2 separate regions of the Homo sapiens genome follow, and region 1 is linked to region 2. The links are contacts of gene promoters, found by promoter capture Hi-C in blood cells and fetal thymus (Javierre and others, 2016). All regions are on one chromosome and are shown on one strand. The core of a region is centred on a gene start or on the middle of the fragment in contact, and the rest is flanking DNA. Distances in the headings are between cores, read along the strand shown. Region 1 holds the start of HOXC6 (homeobox C6). Region 2 overlaps LOC105378250 (a long non-coding RNA gene).

The links. The method cuts DNA at HindIII sites, captures the fragments that hold promoters and counts their contacts. A CHiCAGO score of 5 or more calls a contact.
Region 1: a contact is called between the fragment with the promoter of HOXC6 here and a fragment that was not itself captured in region 2, in 1 of 17 cell types (M1 macrophages). The highest score is 5.7, in M1 macrophages.

What each region holds. Positions count from the first base shown.
Region 1 is chr12:54,027,044-54,029,743 of GRCh38, forward strand. HOXC6 (homeobox C6) reads left to right here and starts at 1,397. Exons shown (of 2, transcript NM_004503.4): 1 at 1,397-1,878; 2 at 2,612-2,700. The coding sequence starts at 1,479. It also overlaps a transcript of HOXC4 not described here and a transcript of HOXC5 not described here. The HindIII fragment of the contact is 15,214 bases long and covers 1-2,700 here.
Region 2 is chr12:53,788,988-53,791,687 of GRCh38, forward strand. The region is part of intron 1 of LOC105378250 (a long non-coding RNA gene); the gene reads left to right. Among named protein-coding and RNA genes, the nearest start is that of CISTR, 38 kb to the left of the region's middle. The HindIII fragment of the contact is 313 bases long and covers 1,180-1,492 here.

The sequences.
Region 1 (2,700 bases), core at 147-2,646, 240 kb after region 2:
CCTATATCACGATATCAAATTAAGTTTGGACTAATCAGGAGAAAACCCCCATCTGCACACTTTCCGCTGTTTCAGTTCGCCTACTGCGGCTCCCTCACAAGCCTCGGATTCAGCTGCCTTTTCGTAACCGTCTCTTCCCTTTTTTTAGCCCCAAGATGGGGGAATAAAATGGGCGTTGAGGTTGCTGAGAGGCCCATCCCCACCACGGGTGACTGGCACTTGGGTGAGAGCTCCTTAGAACCCCTTTCTGAAGTCTCCAAGCCTCATAGCTCAGGTCCAGGGGCGCCTCCACTGGCGGTGCCCTGAGTCTGGAGGGGGCAGGGGGGCTTCTGACCAAGGCAGGGGCTTGAGCCTGCAGGAAGCTAACTGTCCATCAGAGCCCCACCAGCCTTCTCTTTCTGGCTGGATCCTATGTGAATTACCCCACAGGCCCTCACTGGCTCCAAATAATAAATTCTCACCAACATAAACAGGAGTTGATGTCTCTAGAAAGATTCTCAGAGTTTTCGTTCTTCCTCTCTCTCTCTTTCTCTCTGTCTTTCCCCCTCCGGTGCCACCTCCCTACATTTTACTTCTTTTTCTCCTTTTTCTATTGCATTTTTTATACATTTTCCCTTTTAGGCAAAAATGCTGGAAGAGTTTTCCCAACAGAGGGGTCCTGAGAAGGAGGCAGAAGGGAGCCAGGAGGCAAAGGAGAGCAGATGCGTGGCCCATTTGCCCACTCCAGCTCTGCCACTGTACCCTGAAGTCTTGCCCCTTTAGACCTAGTTGTTCCCCACATCCCTACTACATTCAAGACTCTCAGCCACACTCTACTTACTCAGGGGAACAGGTTTTATGAAATTTCTTTCTACTTTTGATTTTTTTTTAATTATTGGTGAAAAAAATACTAGTTTAGTGATGGGACTCACTCCATGGAGTGTCAAAACAGGATTTCCTGCAGGATTTCTAGGGACCCCCCTCCTGTGCTGGGAGGGAGTTCTTCCCTTGGAGAAATCAGGATGTAATTTTAGAAGGGGGCAGATATAAAACATGAAACCAGATTGAAAATACAGGGGTTTCTCTAGCCCTGGCTCTGGCCACAGCACAGCAAAGTTAGCTGGGGCTGAGAGATTTCCTGGTAGTACAGCTCTCCTTCCCTGAGTCCCAAGGCCCTGCTCAGGGACATGCACCCCTCCTTCACCACCAAACCAGTTCCCTTACATATATATATATATATATATATTTTTTAAAAGAAATCCAAGTCTTACTTTCAAAGCACACACTTAGTCTCAACTAGGGAATCAACAGAAGCAGAAGCGATTTTTTTCCCCCTTCCTGACATCTGGCTTGCGATTGGCTGGGAGGGGGTCAGCTGACTTTGTCATTTTGTCTGTCCTGGATTGGAGCCGTCCCTATAACCATCTAGTTCCGAGTACAAACTGGAGACAGAAATAAATATTAAAGAAATCATAGACCGACCAGGTAAAGGCAAAGGGATGAATTCCTACTTCACTAACCCTTCCTTATCCTGCCACCTCGCCGGGGGCCAGGACGTCCTCCCCAACGTCGCCCTCAATTCCACCGCCTATGATCCAGTGAGGCATTTCTCGACCTATGGAGCGGCCGTTGCCCAGAACCGGATCTACTCGACTCCCTTTTATTCGCCACAGGAGAATGTCGTGTTCAGTTCCAGCCGGGGGCCGTATGACTATGGATCTAATTCCTTTTACCAGGAGAAAGACATGCTCTCAAACTGCAGACAAAACACCTTAGGACATAACACACAGACCTCAATCGCTCAGGATTTTAGTTCTGAGCAGGGCAGGACTGCGCCCCAGGACCAGAAAGCCAGTATCCAGATTTACCCCTGGATGCAGCGAATGAATTCGCACAGTGGTGAGTTTTACAGCTCCGAGATATAAATTAAATAAACTGAACTGGCTTTATGACCGGCTTCCCTAGAAGAACGGGCGGAGAGAGTTTTTTATGGCCCCATAAAAACAATCACGCTCGTCTCCTCACCGAGACAGGGCCCCCTCTTCTGCCCCCTCAGCTCGCCTCTCGCTCGCTTGCAGGGGCCTGGCCCCCTTGGCCCCTGACGGATTGGAGGGCCCCAAGGCGGGCTGAGGGGGCAGGAACAGGGCAGGGGATGAGGGGAGGGAGCAGAAGATAGGGGAGCCCCCCAAAGTGGAGTCAGTCTGAGGAGAAGGGAGGGGGAGAGGAGAGGCAGATAAGTGGGGAGAAGTTTCCAAGGAACTAGGATGCTTGGGGAGATGGGGGAGCCCAGTCCTTGAGAAAGGGGGCCCTCATCCCCATTATCTGGGATTTTTCAAAAATCTGCTTTTAGACTTGCAGCTTTCTGTTTGCCTTTTGCCCCGCCCCCCCGCCCCCCCCCCCACCACACACCTTTCTTTGGGACACACAGGTCCCACCTTATAGGAGGTCTGAAGTTGGGGTCCTCGCTGTACCCCCAGTGGGGGTGGGGCAAGGCAAAAGGGAGAAGGCTAGAGCCCTAAGGAGGCTGTGAGCTGCTGGCCAGGTTGGGAGGGTCAGGACTTTGCTAGGCGAAACAGTCTGCAGAGGACGCTTTGCTGATTGCTTTTAGTGTGTTTTGTGCCCGGATCTTTAGGGGTCGGCTACGGAGCGGACCGGAGGCGCGGCCGCCAGATCTACTCGCGGTACCAGACCCTGGAACTGGAGAAGGAATTTCACTTCAAT
Region 2 (2,700 bases), core at 86-2,585:
TGTTAGACTTTTTGTGTATGTTGTGTATGTGTGTGTACAAATCCTGAATGAGTTAAACCAGCTATAGGGAACTGGCTGCCTTCCACCCCTGATCTTGGCTGATGTGTTTGTACCAAACCCTGATATTTATTTTTCATCACCTCTCAAGGGAACTTCAATGAGTTTTCTTTCTGGGAAGTTTATGGCTAAGATGCTGGGCTGCTTTGGGGCCCTTATAAATCTGCTATAATCAGAGGAGGTTTGCAGAGAAAGAGAAACAGCAGCCACAAGGCAATCCTCTCCTGTCCTTTACTTTCTAGCCTAACACACAGTCGCCCTTGTATGAGTACCACCCACATCTACCATCACTCTCCTAGAACCCCTTGATAGAAGGTGCTCAGATAATTCGTTTTATTTATTTCTTTGCTTCTAAGTGGGCCTCTATACTTTGTCAGAAAGAGGAGAATTAAAAAATGTACAAATACATCTACAGTTGAGATTATGAGAAACTGGTTATTTAAACAGTGGTTCTGTTTTATTAAAAAAAAACAAAAAGAATGAGAACAAACTTTTGCAGAAGCAAGGATGGTAAGAGGAGTTGAAAGCCCCTGCATGCTTTTGTAGAAAACTTTAAGAAAAGATTGTCTGTGATGCTCCTGGAAGCAAAAAGCTGGATGATCTGAACATTATTAGGAGGCAAACACAACACAGGAATTCCCTTCCTCCATCTTTCAATGCTGGTAGTTGGGAGATTTTTTTATGAGGGATTTTTATGACAAACTTTACTTTATATTTGACATTTAACAGCATCTCCTGTCCAGGGCATGAGGAAATATAGATATTTATTGACATATGGTGTCAGAAGATCGAGGAAAATTGACTCTGGAGAAGGAAGGGGGAGGGGTTTCTCCCTTTCCCTAGGTATGCAAATTACCCAGCTTAATTTGTGTAGCATATGCTTTTCTGTGCTTTGTGCTTTTCTCAGTAATGAGATTAAGAAATCATTTCATTGTTAATAAAGAACTCAGTGGGGGAAGAGGGAAGATGAGAGACATATAGAAGGAAGCACAATGGGCACCCTGTCCTGTTTGAACCTTATATGCATTCCTTAAATAACACTGGATACAATAGACGTGGGGACAAATGGAACCTGAACTGGGATCCAGGTCCTGGTTCTTGTCATCCTTTTTTAAAACCTCAAGCTTCTGCAGTTTTATCTTGAATTTCACTGTTCTTTGCATTTCTAATAATAAATAGCAGTTCCATATCAAATGATCCCCAAAATCAAGAATTCCTTCCCATTAGCTGTCTTTTCCCTGGAATTCCTTCCTCCCAATTTCTGACTGCTGAAATCCTACACAATCATCATGGCTTAGCTTAGATGTTACCCCCTGTCCGAGCCTTCCTGGATAGCCCTACCTGGAAGCAATTTCTTTACTTTCAACTCCTATCCTCCTTTGACTGATTGTCAGCTATAGTTGTGCGTCTTCTGTTTCTCCCTTACTCAACTATAAGCTTTTGGAGCAGAGGGACTGTGTCCTGAATATTTTATATTCTCTACACAATGTTTAACATAGAGCAAACAATTGTTAAATAAATTTAATGAAGCGGCCGGGCGCGGTGGCTCACACCTGTAATCCCAGCACTTTGGGAGGCCGAGGTGGGCAGATCATGAGGTCAGGAGATCGAGACCATCCTGGCTAACACAGTGAAACCCCGACTCTACTAAAAAAAAAAAAATACAAAAAAATTAGTCGGGCATGGTGGTGGGCGCCTGTAGTCCCAGCTTCTCGGGAGGCTGAGGCAGGAGAATGGCGTGAACCCGGGAGGCGGAGCTTGCAGTGAGCAGAGATCACGCCACTGCACTCCAGCCTGGGCAAGAGAGCGAGATTCCATCTCAAAAAACAAAAAACAACAACAAAAAAATAAATTTAATGAGTGGTATACAGTTGTAAGTAAGAGGCCATGGGTAGAGATGTGGAAGTAAGGGCATTATGGATATTTTAAAGACATTAGTGTTGGCAGGGCGTGACGGCTCACGCCTGTAATCCCAGCACTTTGGGAGGCCGAAGCAGGAGGATCATGAGGTCAGGAGATCGAGACCATCCTGGCCAACATGGTGAAAAATCCCGTCTCTAATAAAAATACAAAAATTAGCTGGGCGTGGTGACACGTGCCTGTAATCCCAGCTACTTGGGAGGCTGAGGCAGGAGAATCGCTTGAACCAGGGAGTCGGAGGTTGCAGTGAGCCGAGATTGCGCCACTCCTCTGCCTGGAGGCAGAGCGAGACTCTGTCTCAAAAATAAATAAGTAAATAAATAAAATAAGATATTATTGTTAATACATGATGATCTCACTCCAACTTGAACTCTAATATGTTGTCATAAAAAGGCTATTTACGTGAGTTTATAATAGCATAAAATGTATATGATGGTGTATTTTTTTAAGTGTATATTATTTTTATTTTTAAGTGTATGTTATTTAAGCAATGTAAAAAATTGTTCATAGAAAAATCTGGAAATAAACGTCAAAATGCTAAGAAAGAAGATACTATTGTTATTAAGATCTGGACATGATATATATCATATTATAGGGAAGTTTTTATCCCTCTGGTAGGTTTATTCCCTTATAACTTATTTATTCATCATCCATTCTTTTTTTCATTTAAATATAGAGCTTTTTCTAGTGCGGAACAGTCAATAAGCAAGAAAACAAGCAATT